Regions from separate parts of the Homo sapiens genome. Here regions 1, 2, 3, 5 and 6 are each linked to region 4. Evidence: promoter capture Hi-C in 16 types of primary human blood cells and fetal thymus (Javierre and others, 2016). All regions are on one chromosome and are shown on one strand. Each heading gives the region's core, a stretch centred on a gene start or on the middle of the fragment in contact. The rest is flanking DNA. Distances are from core to core; before and after follow the strand shown.

Region 1 (2,936 bases), core at 284-2,783, 1.1 Mb after region 4:
GTTCCCTCATCTATCATGAATGTGTTGGATCAATATGTAATCTCTACAGTCCCTGCTGACTCTCATACTCTATCACTCTAGGATTTTTCTCATAGTGGAGTCATTAGTATCTACTATGCAGGAGACAGAGACCTCCTTTGCCTGGAATTAATATTCTTTCGGTTGGGGAGATGCAATCAGAACTCTGGCCAGTGGAGCTCAATTGAGTCAGTCCCTAGGGTGTGAGATGATCTCATTTTATGGGGAGTGACCCTGCTTACAACAACTTGGAATTCTTTACCTTCTCCACCACATCTGGGAAAGTAAGGACTTGGGATATAGGATAATGAAGAGAGGGCAGGGTAATAATGGGGCAAAGGACTTAAACTGGAGCCATATCTGATTATTTGGTCAATTGTCCTTGCCTCTAGATTATCACTGAGTGTTCCCTTTCTGTAGTCCCTGACTGAAGTCACAGTCATTAATGATGGTAGAAATCCAGGGAGATGAAGCAAGATTACACTGAGGCTTGGTGCCAAGTGTCTACAAGTGTCAGAGACCCCACCCAGGCCTTGGACTTGGCCTTATGGGTACATTCTCCAGGACCGCCCCCACCTCACCCTGCCAGAAAGTGCTCCTCCCCTGGAACCCGCCCCCACCCAGATGACCTTCGCAGCCTTCCTCAGGTGCTCCTGGCTGCTCTCTGCTCCTGCACCACCTCTCTCTGTCAACTTAAACCCATAGTAGCCCCTCCCACTAACTCTCCTCTACTCCCCCAGCTAAGACAGCAGGTCTGCCTTTTTAAACTCAGATCAGGCTACTGGGTGTGAGGTCCATGAGGCCATGGCCTTGTGTCTTTTGGTGCTTGTGAGCTTATCTTGGGCCTGGAAAATCATGCTGAGGAGGAAGATATTCCTGCTGCTGCCACCATGGAAAACAGTGCTGTGTTCCAGGAGCTGGGGAATAGTGTGGCAAGCAGATGACCCTTGTACAGCAGAACATTGATGACCTTCTGGAAGAGACCCAGAGATAAGGAGGGAACAGCTTGTGCGGAAAAGGGAGTCCTAGAAGCCAGTCCAAATATTGCAGATGGAATTCTTGTGAGTGAGGGCTTTCTACAAAACCGTTTGCCAAGACAGCTCACATGTTTGCAAGGCAAACATCTAGGCACAAGCTTACAAAATGAAACAGGCAGCTCAATGGCAGGCCCTGGCATGTTGTCGGTGGGAGGCGGACAAGTGAGGACCATGGGCCTTTCACCTGTCCATTTCTCTCTAGCTGCTATGGGGGGCCTCTAATGCTGTATGAGTTCTTTGACTTTCCAATCTATTTAATAGAAGAGAACCTGGGAAGTTAGCTCATCCAAGTCATGCCTCTGTCTCTACACTGGATGTTACCTGCAGCATGTGATAACAAGACAGTTCTGTTCTTTCAATAAATGCCTCTAGAGGAAAGTGCCCACCTATTCTCTGTGACCCATTCTAGGGTTTAATCGCTGTGAAATCTTGAACAATAGGCCTCACATTGACCTTAAGATGCCCCCTCGGTAGTTTACTTTTATTCCATTTCCTATTGATTACAGGTGGGGAATAGCCACTGACCAAGGTTTTCACTTGAAAGGATGCTTTTAAATACTTGACCATAACAGGCCCCCTTAACCTACACTTATTTAGACCTAATAACTTTAGAAACATTTTATACACTTATTTACTTGATAATCTTTTCCAACTATTCTATAATCTCTGCTAGTGACCACAGCTGCTCTCCCCCCGACAGAGCTCCCCTCTCCTTTCTAGGCACCCCATCTCTTCCCTACCTAAGAAATTTTTCCATCTTCAATGCACCAACATTTGAGCAGCTGTATAAGCACAAAATACTTAATTTGGGAACAGTGTCTGTGGGAAGGAATGCTTTGTTAGTTTCCAAAGTAATGCAAAGCTTAATTTTAGAAAGTAATTTAACTTTTTTTTTTTTTTTTTTTTTGGTTCTGGAAGTCACAGAGATTATGGATTGCACTGCAGAGGCAGCCTGCCTCCTGATGATGCTAGCACTTTGTAGCACTGGGTTTTTCTGCAGCAGTTTCATTTTTGTTCTCATTCAGAGACACAGTGGGTCAGTTCAATAAAAACATTTACTCCCTGAGGTCAGGGCCTATGTCTTGTACAGCCTGTCTGTATGGCCAGGGCCTGACAAGGACAAGTAAGTGGGAAGTATTCTTAAATGTTGAATAGCATTGCATTGCCTATCTGCCTCCCACTCCCTACCTTGGTCTTAAACTTGGTCCAATCAGGTTCTGGAACTAGGAAAGAACAGCTATCAAGTATTGGGCAGGACAGGGACAGGCGGGATCGGATCATACCACTGCTACATTCCATGGCTCCAGGAGAAAGTTATGGTGACAAGATTGAAGAGTATCATGTCCTACCAGATCTGATATCAGTCTCTTCCTCTCAGGGACACACAGGACTAGGAGCTGAAACATAATAGGAATTGGGATAGGAATCTGAACCAATAGAGCCAGATAGATTTGGAGACAGGGACCATGAAATGCAGAAATTAGGGGGGTACATCACCACCACCATAGTAGCAATATTTAGGGCTGGAACTGAGATAGGCTCTTGATAAGTAGCACTGCCCCAGAGCCCTCTGTGGGCTCCAGGTGAAGCACCTTCTATCATTTGCTGGGGTGCCTTTTGACTGTCATGGCATGCTCTAGTGCCTTAACACCACGATTGGTGACATTCCCAATTCCCCAGAAATAAAATTTAAACTCTATTTTCCAAGGGTACACACACACACACACACACACACACACACACACAGTCTCTCTCACTCTCTCTTCCAACTGTGTTATAAGCAAAAGTCAGTTTGAGAGGAAGACAGTGATGAAGTCCCCAAGAGAAAATCACTGTGAGTAAAGATACTGTGGCAGAGTGGACCAGACTCAACCAGAGCAC
Region 2 (2,958 bases), core at 405-2,904, 1.3 Mb after region 4:
AAATATGGGAGGATTATGTAATCAAAACAAAAACATGACATGAAATCTCTCAGTGAATCAGCAAAATAACATCTTGTGTTTCATAAATGCATGTTTTAGATTTAGCAAGCTTTCTGACCATTTAAATAGACTTAAGTATTTCTATTTTAGCAGTCTCAACCATGGGTGATTTAGTTAATCACCCTAAGTTAACACTTCTAAGTTAAGTTCAACAGCATGCTTCTCCTGAAGGGCAGAGGGGGATCTTAGCTCTTTTTAGATGTTAAGGTTAGATGATTTGGAAATAGCTTTATATTTTCCATTTTTAGTTTAAAAATTATGCAACCATAATGCCAGAGACAAATTTGAAGAGAAAAAAATCACCCACAAAGCCACCAGCCTTTTACGTATTACCTACAATTACAATCATAGCTTAGAATAGTTTATGATCTCTTGGTTTCTTAATGTACCAAACTCTCCTGTTTCTATCTAGTGTTCAAAATACATTTTAATAGGTGTAATTTTTTCCCATTTTCCTTTCCCCTCCTTTTGGGCACTTTGGGGGTATCTATTTTTTGCTGGTATAGATAAGATGCTTTGAATACCTTTGTATATATAGCACATTATTCCTGTTCACATTTTTTCTTATGAATTCTTGGCAGTGGGAATATTGGGCAAAAAAATACAGTTTTAGAGCTTCTCTAAAAACATATATGGCATTGTAGTTTTACTGTGAGTGGGTGGAGTAGAATTGTTAGATGTTTGAATTGGAAATAATTCGGGAGCCCCTTTTACTGCATTCACCTAGGGACCTAGGAGTCACATTTTAAATTTTGAGATGAGATAATTTAATTTTTTTTTAAAAAAGAATCTTATAAATGTATATTTAATAAAATCTTAGAAATAGAAATTCAGAGATTATCTAGTTCAACTCAACAAATAATGTGTATGTGGGTGCACATGGACATGCCTATGTTGTACTCTTGGATTTGGAGGATCGCATAATGTAATAACGAATAAATCTAGGGGTATATACATTGCTAGGCTGTTTTAGATTTACTATTAAGGGAGAATATGACACTTCTCATGGAGATTTACCTTGTTTTGTTTGGCTCCATGGAAAGACTTAGCAACAGATTTTAGTATTAGCATAAAGAAGTCTTTGATAATTAAGTAAGTGTCTAATAAATAACTCGTAAAAATAGCCAACAATGGAATAGATCTCTTCTAGTGATGAGTTCTGAGTTTGGAATAGTCAAGTAAACTTGGTATCTACTTGAGATATTCATATGTAAGTTTGGAGTTAAATCATATGAGTCCCTTCTTGGCTTGTGACTACAGATAAAACTTTTTGGTTTGGACAGATCCATTTCCTGATGGCCCCATTCATTGAGATTCCTTTTCTGTTCCCTTACCCTAACATTTAAAAATTTTTAAGATTCTCTATTTGTGAGACTTGATTAAAGAGTTTGCCTTCATAGGGCAGGCTGCTTTTTCCTGTCTTCTCTTTCTACTTAGAATAGGAGATATCTTTAAAAATTTTTTTAATTAAAAGAAATTTTTTGTGGCTAAATAGGTGTATATGTTTATGGGGTACATGAGATGTTTTGATACAGGCATGCAATGTGTAATAATCACGTCATGGAGAATGGGGTATCCATCCCCTCATGCATTTATCCTTTGTGTTACAAACAATCCAATTATACTATTTTAGTTATTTTTAAATGTATAATTATTGACTATAGTTACCCTGTTGTGCTATCAAATAGTAGGTCTTATTCATTCTTTCTAACTATTTTTTTTACCAGTTAGCCATCCCCCATCCCTACTACCATTTCTACCCTCTGCTAACCATCCTTTCATTCTCTGTGTCCCCGAATTCAATCATTTTGAGTTTTAGATCCCACAGATTAGTGAGAAGGTACAATGTTTATCCTTCTGTGCCTGGCTTATTTCACTTAACATAATGATTTCCAGTTCCGTCTATGTTGCAAATGACTGAATCTCATTCTTTTTTATGGCTGAATAGTACTCCATTGTGTATGTGCACCACAGTTTCTTTATCTAGTCATCTGTTGATGAACACTTAGGTTGCTTCCAAATCTTAGCTATTGTGAACAGTGCTGCCACAAACATGGGAATGCAGATACATCTGATATACTGATTTCCTTTCTTTTGGGTATATACTCAGCAGTGAGATTGCTGGATCATATGGTAGCTTTATTTTTAGTTTTTTGAGGAACCTCCAAACTGTTCTCCATGGTGATTGTACTAATTTACATTCCCACCAACAGTGTACGACAGTTCCCTTTCCTCCACGTTCTTGCCAGCATTTGTTATTGCCAGGACAGGAGGTATCTTATAAGCAGTGTTTTCAATTCCTGAAGTGCTAAAAACACAAACACAAAAAGAAATCTTTCCAAGATTGTTTTGCTCAGTTGCTGAGTCCTCAGTCTTTGGAATCTTATCCAGCATGGGTTAGACAATTATGCCACAGAACTCAAAGGTATGGATTGGGGAGTGGGGGGAGTAAGGGGGGGAAATTTATTAGAAAAAGTTAAAATATATATAAAAATGAGTTATGGAAAGATAGGAACAAGTATCGTCCCTCTTCTACCCTTCCACCACAAAACCTTTAGGTCTGATTTTTTAAAATTCTGCTGCTTTTGATTTTGAGGATTTGAGAACTTTTTTAAAAAAACATTTTGGCTGGGCACAGTGGCTCATGCCTGTAATCCCAGCACCTTGAGAGGCCAAGGTGGGTGGATCGTTTGAGGTCAGTAGTTCAAGACCAGCCTGGCCAACATAGCAAAACCCCATCTCTACTAAAAATACAAAAATTAGCTGGGCGTGGTGGAGTGCGCCTGTAATCTCAGCTACTCGGGAGGCTGAGGCAGGAGAATCCTTTGAACCCAGGAGCCAGAGGTTGCAGTGAGCCGAGATCGCACCACTGCACTCCAGTCTGGGCGACAGAGTGAA
Region 3 (3,020 bases), core at 278-2,777, 1.2 Mb after region 4:
TTCATCTGACAAAATTCCACTCTTGGTTATATCCACCTTTTACCCTCTTTCATGTCTACAACCCAGCAACCGAATGTGGAGCTCGGAAAAATACGCATTCAAGATGAATGGATTCTTTCTAAATTTAAGTGTACCTTTGGAGCTGTCCTTCAATCAATTCCACAGTTAATTTACCATTTTCCTCTTCCAGATAACTATTTCATACTTTTTCCTCTTTATAAACTTCTAATATCTCTTCCCCATCCTCAGTTAAAACTAACTTTGCTTCCTAGTGCAGAAGCAATTAGAAAGGAGCTTCTACAACCTGTTCTTCCTGTATTTATCTGCCTTTCTCCATCTGTGCCCACATAATCTGCTTTCCTTCTTGCTGTTTTCTTAGGCTGCCTATGTCCCTAAGGCTAAATCCTCCTTCTGTGCATGAGATCCCATCCCCACTTTCTTGCTTAAAGATGTAATTCTACCAGTTCTCCCGTCTCTCCCTTATACCATCAAATTTTCCTTCTCAGCTGGATAATCCTCACCACACAATTCAATTCTCAGCATACAAACATGGCATAATTTTCCTCATCTAAAAAAAATCCTTCTCTTGACCTCAAGTCCTCTTCCAGCTACCATGCCACTTTCCTTTTCCTTTTCACAGCAAAAGTCCTCCAAAGAGTTGTCTATTCTTAGCGGTAATCCTTTTCTTCACATTCTCTTTTGAACTCATTTCTATCGAACTTATGCCCTAATGACCCCAATGAACTATTCCTTGTCAAGGTCACCAATGACCTCCACATTGTTAACTCCAATGGTCAATTAACAGTTTTCATTTTACTCCACCATTTGATCCACCTCGTGTCTTGCAACATTTTTCACCTGGCTTCTGGGATATCACACTCTTCTAGTTTTCTTCCTATCTCATTGGCTAGTGCTTTTCAGCTTCCATTTGGGTCCTTCTTATCTCTCTGATTTCTAATTGCTAATGTGTCTCAAGGTTTAGTTCTTCAGTCTCTTTTCTTTTCTATCAATACTCATTCTTGTGGCAATTTCATCTAAAAGGCAATTTTATTCTTCCAGTTACTTGGGCCAAAAACTTAAGACTGATCCTTGACTCCTTTCATATTGCATTATTGCATTTGCCAACAAGTTCTGCTTCTTTGACTTTAAAAAAATATGTCAAAAATCTGTTCATTTCTCCCTATCTCCACTATTACCACCCAGGTCAAAGTCTCTATCTCCTTGCCTGAATTGATATAATGGTCTCTGACTGATCTCCCTACTAGAGGCATCCCCCAACCTCCCTGTTTGTTTTCTATACAGTAGCTAGAGTGATCCTTTAAAAATGCAAGTTATATCATACGCTCTTTTGCTCAAAACCCTCCAATGACTTTCTCACTCACAGTTATCTCCAAAGACTCTCTTTTTCTCATGTCTAGGCTCTATAGGCATTTACTGCCTGTACTGTATAACTATTCAGAAACAAATTATGATATATGGCAAGCAGATTAAAGTATGCTGGTTCATGAGTACACATCGGCATTTTCCAAGAATTAATTTTTTTTAAGAAATATACATGCCAATCTTACTGAATCAGGACCTTTGGGATTAAATACTAGGCATGTGTATTTTGAACAATTCTCCAAACGATTCTGCTGTAATCCCCTCGTTAAGAACTGCTGCTTTCATAGAATGGGACTATTACAGTATCAGGAGGCCTAGATTCTACTCCTTGATTGCCACTGATCGTCCCTGGTATCTTGGAGCCTCAGTTTCTTTGCCTATAAAATGAAAGAATTGTATTATGTGATTTCTAAAGTATCTACTGGCTTTGACATAATAATTAAAAAAACAAGATAGCTCAGTAGTTAAAATAGATGTCATAAAATGCACTAAAACTCACATACTACATTCAACTTAATGCTTTACACTTTTACTTATTCACAATTTTTTTGTCCAAATCCTTTTGGCCAAGGAAAAATTTAAATAAATATGCTACTCTATAAACAGCCACATTGACATTAAGAAGACAATTATCAGACTGACATCAAAGACAGTATGACAGAAAAATGAGAATAGCACAGTTGCAGCAGTTGAGGACCATTTGGGATAATGGAAATTAATTCTGCATATTACAATAGAAGGCATCACTATTTTGTTATATGGCAAAAATAACTTATAATATGTGATCATGTCAAGTTAGCAGTAAAAAAGTTAAACCAAGCAGAAAAAACATATGTTTTAGCAAGATTTCTAAGCAAAACAATGAGAAAAAGCAGTATGAGGTCTTATAAAGAGTAAGTTATCTGTTATGAAAAAGCTCAGCGACTTCAGTTAAGTCTTTCTGATCCTACCTTCCTTCTGGGCCCAAATCAACCAGAGCAGGTTTGGTACTCCTCCTATTTGCTTCCATAGCATCCTACACACCTCTATCATTTCACTAAGCACACTGTCTTATTTATCTACTGATATCTCTTCTTCTAGACTCTGAGTGTAAGGGCACGGACCATGTATTATTCATCCTTTAGCCCTAGAAAATAGCATAATATCTAGCATATATTAGATGCTTAGACATGTTTATTAAATACATGAATAAATTTAGGATAACTCATCCTCCAGGTTTTTATTATGTTCAGTTTATTATTTACCGAATTCCAGTGTTTCTCCAGTACAGTTCCAAGAGCAAACTAAATCAAAGCCAATAGGAAGTTTGTTAAAAAATACAGATTCCTGGACTGTCCTTGAAACTTCTGGGATGGGGCTCAAGAGTCTGTATTTTTTTTTTTTAAAGTTCCCTAGGTGATTCTGATACATGATTAAGTTTGGCAACCACTGCAGTACACCATTTTTTTTCTCTAAATTATTTCAAGTACCTAATGTTGCCTCCTCTAAAGGACTATAACTCCTCTGAGAATAGCCATCATCCAATGTAAATTTCTAGGCAGCATACCCTCTTAGCCTTGCATTGTACCAAACCTGTTAGCCAGCACCTTTCAGGCTATGCATACTCCCAAGCCAGACTGACTCACTCATCTAAACTC
Region 4 (3,197 bases), core at 91-2,590:
AAAGAAAATAGATAAATATTTGTAGTTCTATGATTACTAAATATATCTACACTGACCTATATATACCTGTATAAAGATATATACCTGTACTATACTATATACCTATATTGTCCAGTATCATGTTGCCCACTGTCAAGAAACAAAATTTCATCAAATTTAGTTTAAAGTTCTTGGCCAGGCATGGTGGCTCACGCCTGTAATCCCAGCACTTTGGGAGGCCGAGGTGGGCAGATCACCTGAGGTCAGGAGTTTGAGACCAACCTGGCCAACACGGTGAAACCCTGTCTTTACTAAAAATACAAAAATTACCCGGGCATGGTGACACACTCCTGTAATCCCAGCTACTCGGGAGACTGAGACAGAAGAATTGCTTGAACCCGGGAGGCAGACGTCATAGTGAGCCAAGATTGTGCCACTGCACTCCAGGCTGGGCAACAGAGTTAGACTGTCCTCTGTCTCAAAAAAAAAAAAAAATCGAATTGGCTTTTATTAGTGATTCATGAATCAGGCAGCATCTCATCTATAAAACAGAAAAGTGTTCTAATGAGCTGAGCAGAAGGGGTTGGGCTTATAGGCAGAAAAGGGCTGAAGAAAGCAGAAATAAGGAACAAAAAGCAGATTGGTCATTTTGAAGTTACTTTCCTCAAAGAGTTACATCAGAGGGGACTTCTTTATCATGCCAGCTCAGGTATATGGGCCCCTTCTCCTATTTGTTGGAAAACTGACCCCTTTTAAAGCTGAGTTTAATTACGCAGCACCTAGGACAAGTTGCCTCCATTCTGGTTTTGTCTGCTCTCTTGAGGCCTAGTGCCAGAGTTCTGTCCAAAACAACGACCTCCCATAAACTTTATTTAACACCATTGATCTTTTTTCCTACGTCTAAGTCACCCCAACTGTTATAAATTCCTATTACAAAGGGATCCCTGCTATGCTAATTGCAACCTTTGGGGTCTAACCGTGCTGTACACACACACACACACACACACACACACACACACACATGCTCAACAAATTTATGCTATTTGATAAGAGGCAATTTGACGTCAAGAGAAGAACTGTTTGGCCTAGGCTCTATGCCAAGTCTTGGTTGTGCCACTAACCGTGAAACATACCCTCTCTGACCTTCAGTTTTCTGGCTGCAGACCTATTTTCCCAGGGGTGCCAGGGAGGGAGGATAGGCAACTGGTCCATTCGTTTATCCTCCCCACCTTCCCGGCGCAGCCTTCTCAGGGAAACTCCGCCTCAAGGCTGGGGACTGGAGGAAGGGTGGTGGGGCCACGGTGGCCATCTTTGTGCGGGGCGACCCGCCGCCCACGTGCTGCGGCTCCCGGGCCATCTTTGTGCGGGGCCGCGCTTCCGCCAGCGCCGCAGCGGGGAATCTGCAGTAGGTCTGCCGGCGATGGAGTGGTGGGCTAGCTCGCCGCTTCGGCTCTGGCTGCTGTTGTTCCTCCTGCCCTCAGCGCAGGGCCGCCAGAAGGAGTCAGGTGGGCTCCGGGCAGTGCCGAGCCTGCCCCTTGGGCTCGGGGTCTGGCCGGAGTCCCGAGGCGCTCCCCCGCGCGGCCGGCTCCCGGGAAGATGCCGTGGCCGCTGTAGCTCGGAGCTGGGCAGAAGGCACCGGGGCGCCTTGCGGCGGAGAGTGAGGTGCCGGGGTCTCTGCTCCTGCTCTGGACCCTGGAGAGTAACCCATTCCCCGGAATTCAGAATGACAGGGAGGAGAGGGAATTCCCCGTTCACCCGCAGGAGGCGTGGCCCGTGCTTGGCTACTCTGGACCTGCCTGAAACACTGAGGGGTCGGGGATGGGGGCAAATGTCGTGCGCGCGAGCGTGTGTGTATATGCGTTGCCAGAAGAGAAGAGGGGTTTAATGTCTGTAGCTTTTAACTGATCCTCTTTGTGGAGTTCAATTTGATTAGTAGAAAGTGAGAGTCCGCGTCACTATCCATAGCATTCTGAGGGTTGAGCATTAAGCTTGGGAATTTTCCAGTTTCTTGGACACCTGACAGCCGGATAGAGGAACAGACTTGACGTGAGCGTGGGAGTTGCACACACAAAAATTCCTCCCTAGCGTTTCGTTTCCATCAGTGGGATGGGAAGGGGATTTCTGAAAGTTTTGGTCTTCTGTTTCTTCTGTTGGTGTGGTGTCAGCAAATAACATTCAGGAAAATTTTTTTAACTCTCATTTACTTCACTTTTTAAAGGTTCAAAATGGAAAGTATTTATTGACCAAATTAACAGGTCTTTGGAGAATTACGAACCATGTTCAAGTCAAAACTGCAGCTGCTACCATGGGTGAGTTCTTTTCTTTGATGTGTCTTTGAGAGTTTAGTTGCTGTCACAGGAAGTATTCTAACATCCTTGAGAGATTTTGGTTGCAGTGGTCAGAAAGGCAAGGATGTTTTTCTATTTCTGGGGAATAAAAATGCTCTCGCATGGGAAAGGCTCAGGTGGTGTCAACCTAACCACTGACTCACTGCGGGATTCAGTGCATGTGCATCTGTTTTTCCCACTGGGCTGCAAGCTTCCTGAGGTCAGGGTCTGTGTCTTATTTGCTGTTGTCTCCCTGGTGCTAGCTGTCAGTGCGTGCTCGATAAATATTGTTGAGGAAATAAACCCATCTATCGCTGAATCTAGTCCTAAATTTCCTGATGGTTATCTTTAGAAAATGCACATCAGGCTGGGCATGGTGGTTCATGCCTGTAATCCCAGCACTTTGAGAGGCCAAGGCAGGTGGATCACCTGAGGTCAGAATTTCGAGACCAGCCTGGCCAACATGGTGAAACCCTGTCTCTACTAAAAATACAAAAATTAGCTGGGCATGATGGCACGTGCCTGTAATCCCAGCTACTCGGGAGGCTGAGGCAGGAGAATCGCTTGAACCCGGGAAGCAGAGGTTGCATTGAATCCAGATCATGCCACTGCACCCCAGCCTGGGTGACAGAGTGAGACTCCGTCTCAAAAAAGAGAGAGAATGCACATCAGGGCCGGGATGAGGTATGGTAGAAAGATAACTCTGAAAACAGACTTGGGTGTTGGTGCCGGTACTCCCACTGGTTACCCCTGTGCCGAGCCACTTCAACTCCTCTGGGTCTCAGATTCTTCATCAGCTAAATAACAGGGTCTTTTAAGCTCCTTTTTATGTTATTTTTGACTCCTCAAAAAATTCCTTGGATGCTTATGATACTTATTGAAAACTTACTA
Region 5 (2,972 bases), core at 107-2,606, 1.1 Mb after region 4:
AGTCAAGTGCTGTAGATAACCAGCATGCTCTGTAAGGCTGGTGTAGATGGTATATTGGTCTTAACTTTCAAAGGATATCCACGACTACTTTGATTTGAAGCTTGCATAAGCATGGGTTGCCCCAGAAAGCAGAGACTGAGGGAAAGTCTTCTGTGCAGGTAGTTTATATTAGGAAGTGATCTGAAGGAATAGAAGTTTGGGAAGAGTGAAACATGGAAGGAGGGAAAGCCAGCAAACATGTGCCATGAACCTGTTGCCTCTGAGAGTAACAGGCTCCCACCTGGGACCTTCTGAGAAGCCCTGTGGAATGTAGAATTTTTCAACCAGATGTGGGAAAAGCAAATGTTTGTCTTGTCTCCATTGGTCAAGGGTTATCCCATGCAATTCTCGTGTACATCAGGGTATGGACATACTCTGGAAAGGCTGACGATGTTTTTACAGGCATTACACATGCGGGAGAAAGGAAGCTTAGGGCAGAAAGCAAGTGATGTGCAGCTGAGGTAAAGTATTGTCAGGTCACACTTGCAGGCAGCTGACAGTGGCAGCAATAGTTAGAGTAAAAAGGTGGACCAAGAGGTTGTGAGGCAGGCAAAAGAGATATAGGATTTCTTCCTCCACTTCATGCGCTGCTTGGATCTATTTGGACATACACTGAGTCCAGTCTATAACATGTCCTTCAAGGTGATGGCTGTATACAATCTACAGAACACTCAGTATGGACAATTAGTGGAACCAGCTACAGTACATACTGTTGCAACTGGCCCAGAGTCTGTAACTCATTCATCTCCCCTCATCGTATTTACTAGATTTCCCTTCCTTGGCCATCATTTTAGCAGGTCTAGATTGCTAGCCAGATGAAGTCACCAAAGCCTTCATTTCTAAGGACCAGAATCTTAGTTACTCTATCATCATCAGCCCTTTGTTGTAGCAATTGCATGTTTACAGCTGGGCTGGAAGTGGAAGCACCGAGATGCTCCAGTGAATCCCCTGGACTCCAGACATTACCCTTTTTGCCCCATTGTGTAGCAGCAACCCTAGCTCCGTGGGTCACTTACTGCTGCCAGTATGGAAATTTCTTTTTCGGTCTACTGTTTCCCAAATACAAGAAGTACCAGATTATTTTGTTTCCCTGGTGAAAGTGTTCTTATGCCCCAGCATGGGAATCAGGACTTCTTCCAGCAGAACCTAAATTTGGAGGGAGGGGAAGTGCACATTCCACCATGAGTTACTGGGATGGCAAAAGGGGCCAATCCTACTTCTTGGTTCTCAGAGTCATAAATTCTAGCTGCTGGGGCATAGCACTGTATCTATGACCATTGGTTCATTGCATATACCACATGGTCAACCCTGAGCCTCAGTCCTGCTAGATGTCCTTAAGCTGGTACTTTAGCTAAGCCTTTAGTAGGCTTAGCTAAATTCATCTGTGCCCTAGAGCTGCTGTGTACATCCAATCACATGACAGTGCTTCTGACTGTCCAGATCTTGATAGGCAGTTCTGGTTGAATGGTCACCTCATCTCATACTGGGTGCCCAGCTGCTTTTGGAATGGTGAATTTTTCTTTGCTGCAGAAGGCATGGCCTTGCTCCACAACCTAAGAAGTCAGCACTGCAACTATTCTGTTGCCAAGGTCTTGTAGGAGACTCCAAGCAGCATCCTTAGCTACCTACCACAGACACCTAGAGTATTGGCTTTATTGTGTTATATGACCCAAGTGGCTGCTGCTTACACTGCAGCCTGGATCTGCTGCAGAGTCCTTTCTGGGCTCCATTCAAAACTGGCAGCTTATAGCCAGGCATGCCTGGTATGTGCCTAACTAATTGGAAGGCTGAGATGGGAGGATTTCTTGAGCCCAAGAGTTCAAAGTTGCAGGGAGCTATGATCATGCCACCCACTGCACTTCAGCCTGGGTGACAAACTGTGACCCTCTCTCTGGAAGAACAAAACTGGCAGCTTTACAAATCACTGCATAAATGGGTCAGAGTACTGTTCCCAAGTAGGGTATGTGTTGTCTCCAGAATCCAGAGGCCCACAAAGTGCTGTGCCTTTTTCTTTGTAGTAGAGGGTGTGAAGTGGTTCAACTTGTGCTTTACTTTGGAGGGGCTATCCTGGCATGCCAAAGACCACTGGATACCCACAAACATCACTGATATGGGAAGCTCCTAAACCTTTATAGAGATTATCTCCCACTTTCTGGATCTTATACTAGTGCATTAAGGTAATGAGGAATCTAATCTATGAGTAAACAGAAGCTTTAAGGCAGAAATACTAGAAGGTGTGAGAAACAGCAATTCAAAGGGGCCAAGGTGGTAGACACGTGGGAGTAGCTGTGTGTAATGGTGGAGTAAAGATCCATGAATTCCTGCAAAATGGATCTTAAAACTATTTTGGATCTACAGCTACCATCCTGTGCCCATGAGACTTGACCAAATCATATGATTTCCATGTGGTTCCTGTTTGCTAATTTGCCCCTGCCCATATCATTACAATAACGGTAAGACCCTGCTTCTTCCACCCATCCTAATGGCCATTATTGTTATATTGTTCTCCAGATCTTAAAGAATTGTATTACTTGATTCTCATTTTGCTAGAGGGCAAAAACAGAAGGAATCCTACTGTGACCTTCCGTCTTTTTTTCTAGATGACTTTAGTTTACCCCGTAGTCCCCACTTATTCAGTTATCTGAAGTCAACCACAGTTCTAAAATAGGTGAGACAGTACAATAAGATGTTCTGAGAGAGAGAGACCACATTCCCATAACATAACAGTGTTTACTATTATTATTGCAGTATATAATGATAGTTCTATGTTACTATTAGTTATTGTTTTATTCTCTTTTGGAGGCTGATTTCTAAATTAAATTTTATTATCGGTATGTATTTATAGGAAAAAACAGTATATATAGGGTTTGGTACTATCTGTATGGTTTCAGGCATCCACTGGGGGTCTTGGAATGTCTTTTCTGTTGATAAAA
Region 6 (2,973 bases), core at 251-2,750, 1.3 Mb after region 4:
CTTCAAAGCTGTCCGACAGGGACATTTAAGTCTGCAGAGGTTTCAGGCTATGCCCTGCCCTCCGAGGTGGAGTCTACAGAGGCACACAGGCCTCCTTGAGCTGCGGTGGGCTCCACCCAGTTCGAGCTTCCTGGCCTCTTTGTTTACTTACTCAAGCTTCATCAATGGCGGGCGCCCCTCCCCCAGCCTCACTGCCACCTTGCAGATCTCAGACTGCTGTGCTAGCAATGAGCAAGGCTCCGTGGGTGTGGCACCCTCTGAGCCAGGTCAGAGATATAATCTCCTGGTGTGCTGTTTGCTAAGACCATTGGAAAAGCACAGTATTAGGGTGGGAGGGACCCAATTTTCCAGGTGCTGTCTGTCACCGCTTCCCTTGGCTAGGAAAGGGAATTCCCTGACTCCTTGCGCTTCTTTGGCTCACACACAGTGGGCTGCACCCACTGTCCTGCCCCCACGGTCTGACAAGCCCCAGTGAAATGAACTTGGTACCTCGTTGGAAATGCAGAAATCACCTGTCTTCTGCGTCGCTCACGCTGGGAGCTGTAGACTGGAGCTGTTCCTAATTGGTCATCTTGGAACCACTCCCTTAATTTTAAGTTCCTTGAGGGTTCTTACGCAGCTTTTTTATCTCTAGTATTTAGATCAGAACCTTAATTAGTATTTATTAAAAGTTTCCATATTATTCCAAAATCTTCATAAACATTTAAAGTATCTCCATAGTACTTCAGAAAGTAGGCATAAAAATTTACTTAATCATTCTTCCATTATTATTAGATATTTAGGGTGTTTTGAAATTTTTGATATGCTAGTGAAAGGTTATTTCTGTTTAAACCTTTGTTTAAAATTAAAATTATGTCCTTAGTATACCTTCCCAGGAGTAAACTCAGTACTTAAAAGGAAACATTTAAAGTTCTTGATATGCATTGAGAAATAACTTTCATGGGGTTATACTGCCACCAGCCATACACTTGAGCCTGCAGGTCTTGTTGCACCTCAACAGTATCATGTAGTTGGCTTTTCATCCTTGTTAACCTGATAAAGGAATAAAAGTGACATCTTGGCCAGGTGCGTTGGCTCACACCTGTAATCCCAGCACTTTGGGAGGCTGAGGCAGGCAGATCACGAGGTCAGGAGTTCGAGACCAGCCTGGCCAAAATGGTGAAACCCTGTCTCTACTAAAAATACAAAAATTAGCTGGGCGTGGTGGTGGGTGCCTGTAATCCCAGCTACTTGGGAGGCTGAGGCAAGAGAATCACTTGAACCCAGGAGGCAGAGGCTGCAGTGAGCCGAGATTGCGCCACTGCACTCCAGCCTGGGTGACAGAGCAACAATCCGTCTCGGTGGTGGCGGGCAGTGGGGGAGTGACAGCTTGCTTTAGTCTGCATTTCTTTACTTTCTGATAAAGATCAAAGATTATCATTATGATTATTCTGGCAAATCAGTTGTTTTTCCTCTCATAAATTCTCTGTTGATCTACTCTGTACCTTTATCTACCAGGTTTTAGTGTCATTAATTTATATGAGCTCTTTATCTATTAAATATATTAATCATTTTACGTATGTGTAATTGAATCAAACATTTTCTCAGGCTTCCCTTTTATTACTTTTTTTATATAGAAACATTTAAGATTTTTAAATACTCAAAATTATATTTGTCATTGAATTTACTGCATTGTGTCTAATATCTGTAACTTTTAGGATGTATTGTTGATTCTGTATTTGTAAATAGGTTTGTTTATGTTCAAGGAATGTATCTATCCACTTAATTATCAGCTTGATGCAACACTTGAGGCCTAGTTTAGCTTAATTGTGTTAGGGTAAACATTTCCAGGCAGTAGAATTGTATAGCTCTCCATGAATTAACTGCTTTGGGTGATAAGTATTAGCTAAGAAGGGATGAAACCCTAAACAGTAAGAACAGTTGAAGTGCTAGGGAATAATGGCGAATTTCATTTCTTTAAGAATTTTGGGAGATTCTGATTCTATGTTTTCACCTTTAGAACTAAATTTGATCAAAAGAATGCACTTGATTTGCTTGGGGGTAAAAAAGGCCCAATATAAATAAATGTCAGCTCCAAATACAGCTGTTTGGTAATATGTTAAACTAGTCCCTAATCTCTGAAAGAAAGAGAAAACCGTATGGTAGTGAGACTTTCAGGGTTCCTTACCAAATTACCAAATATCTCAATAGGATAAAAACAAATCACCAAATATCAACTTATTCTTTTTATTTTTTTTTCTTGGAGACAGGGTCTCACTCTATCACCCAGGCTAGAGTGCAGTGGCACGATCCTAGCTCACTGCAGCCTCAAATTCCTGGGCTCAAGTGATCTTCTCACCTCAGCCTCCTGAGTAGCGGGACTACAGGCGTGCACCACCATGCCCGGCTAACTTTCTGTACTGTTTTTGGTAGAGAGAGGGTCTTGCCATGTTGCCCAGGCTAGTCTTGAACTGAGCTCAAGCAATCCACCCGCCTCAACCTCCCAAAGTGCTGGGATTATAGGCTAGAGCCACCTTGTCTGGCTAAGTCATTTCTTTATATATTTGTGAAACCCTCAAAATTTTATAAGGGAAATGGCCTTTATTTAAAAATAAACTTTCGGGTTTGAAAGAAAGGCTGAGGAAGTGTAAAAAGTGCATTCTAAACTGTCAGACTGTGTACTTTTAAATCGCAGTTAAAAGGAGACTGACAAAATTACCTTTTAAAAAGATAAAAAGACAATAACTAACTTTGCACATAAAGGTTAACATTAGTGAATGTGTGACAACATCAATCACTTTCCTGGCCATCACAGCTGTGTCTTCTGCTTTACAACTAAACCATAACAGGGGAGGCGGGCAGTAGGGAAGCTTATCAATTGCCTGATTACTTTTCCACATTTAATGTAGCTGCTAATTCTATCCCTGTTATATGACGCATTAATTCCACAGTTATAACCCCAGAACCTAATACAGTGCCTGTTGGAAAGAAAAT

What was found. Contacts are between HindIII fragments. The CHiCAGO score rates a contact against its expected background, and 5 or more counts as called.
Region 1: a fragment that was not itself captured here is called in contact with the fragment with the promoter of POGLUT1 in region 4 in 1 of 17 cell types (monocytes); the score reaches 5.0 in monocytes.
Region 2: a contact is called between a fragment that was not itself captured here and the fragment with the promoter of POGLUT1 in region 4, in 1 of 17 cell types (neutrophils). The highest score is 7.2, in neutrophils.
Region 3: a fragment that was not itself captured here is called in contact with the fragment with the promoter of POGLUT1 in region 4 in 2 of 17 cell types (total CD4 T cells and non-activated CD4 T cells); the score reaches 5.1 in total CD4 T cells.
Region 5: a fragment that was not itself captured here is called in contact with the fragment with the promoter of POGLUT1 in region 4 in 1 of 17 cell types (neutrophils); the score reaches 11.3 in neutrophils.
Region 6: a fragment that was not itself captured here is called in contact with the fragment with the promoter of POGLUT1 in region 4 in 6 of 17 cell types (fetal thymus, total B cells, activated CD4 T cells and 3 more); the score reaches 8.9 in fetal thymus.

What each region holds. Positions count from the first base shown.
Region 1 is chr3:120,555,255-120,558,190 of GRCh38, forward strand. No RefSeq gene overlaps it. Among named protein-coding and RNA genes, the nearest start is that of NDUFB4, 40 kb to the right of the region's middle. The HindIII fragment of the contact is 764 bases long and covers 1,152-1,915 here.
Region 2 is chr3:120,753,958-120,756,915 of GRCh38, forward strand. The region is part of intron 2 of GTF2E1 (general transcription factor IIE subunit 1); the gene reads left to right. Among named protein-coding and RNA genes, the nearest start is that of GTF2E1, 13 kb to the left of the region's middle. The HindIII fragment of the contact is 3,094 bases long and covers 108-2,958 here.
Region 3 is chr3:120,710,209-120,713,228 of GRCh38, forward strand. All of the region lies in intron 2 of RABL3 (RAB, member of RAS oncogene family like 3), which reads right to left. Among named protein-coding and RNA genes, the nearest start is that of HGD, 29 kb to the left of the region's middle. The HindIII fragment of the contact is 3,405 bases long and covers 1-3,020 here.
Region 4 is chr3:119,467,623-119,470,819 of GRCh38, forward strand. POGLUT1 (protein O-glucosyltransferase 1) reads left to right here and starts at 1,341. Exons shown (of 11, transcript NM_152305.3): 1 at 1,341-1,484; 2 at 2,198-2,288. The coding sequence starts at 1,400. RefSeq lists enhancers at 1,005-1,505, 1,198-1,367 and a silencer at 1,418-1,617. The HindIII fragment of the contact is 3,798 bases long and covers 1-1,965 here.
Region 5 is chr3:120,603,185-120,606,156 of GRCh38, forward strand. No RefSeq gene overlaps it. Among named protein-coding and RNA genes, the nearest start is that of NDUFB4, 8.3 kb to the left of the region's middle. The HindIII fragment of the contact is 1,783 bases long and covers 466-2,248 here.
Region 6 is chr3:120,738,038-120,741,010 of GRCh38, forward strand. All of the region lies in intron 1 of RABL3 (RAB, member of RAS oncogene family like 3), which reads right to left. Among named protein-coding and RNA genes, the nearest start is that of RABL3, 3.0 kb to the right of the region's middle. The HindIII fragment of the contact is 2,693 bases long and covers 155-2,847 here.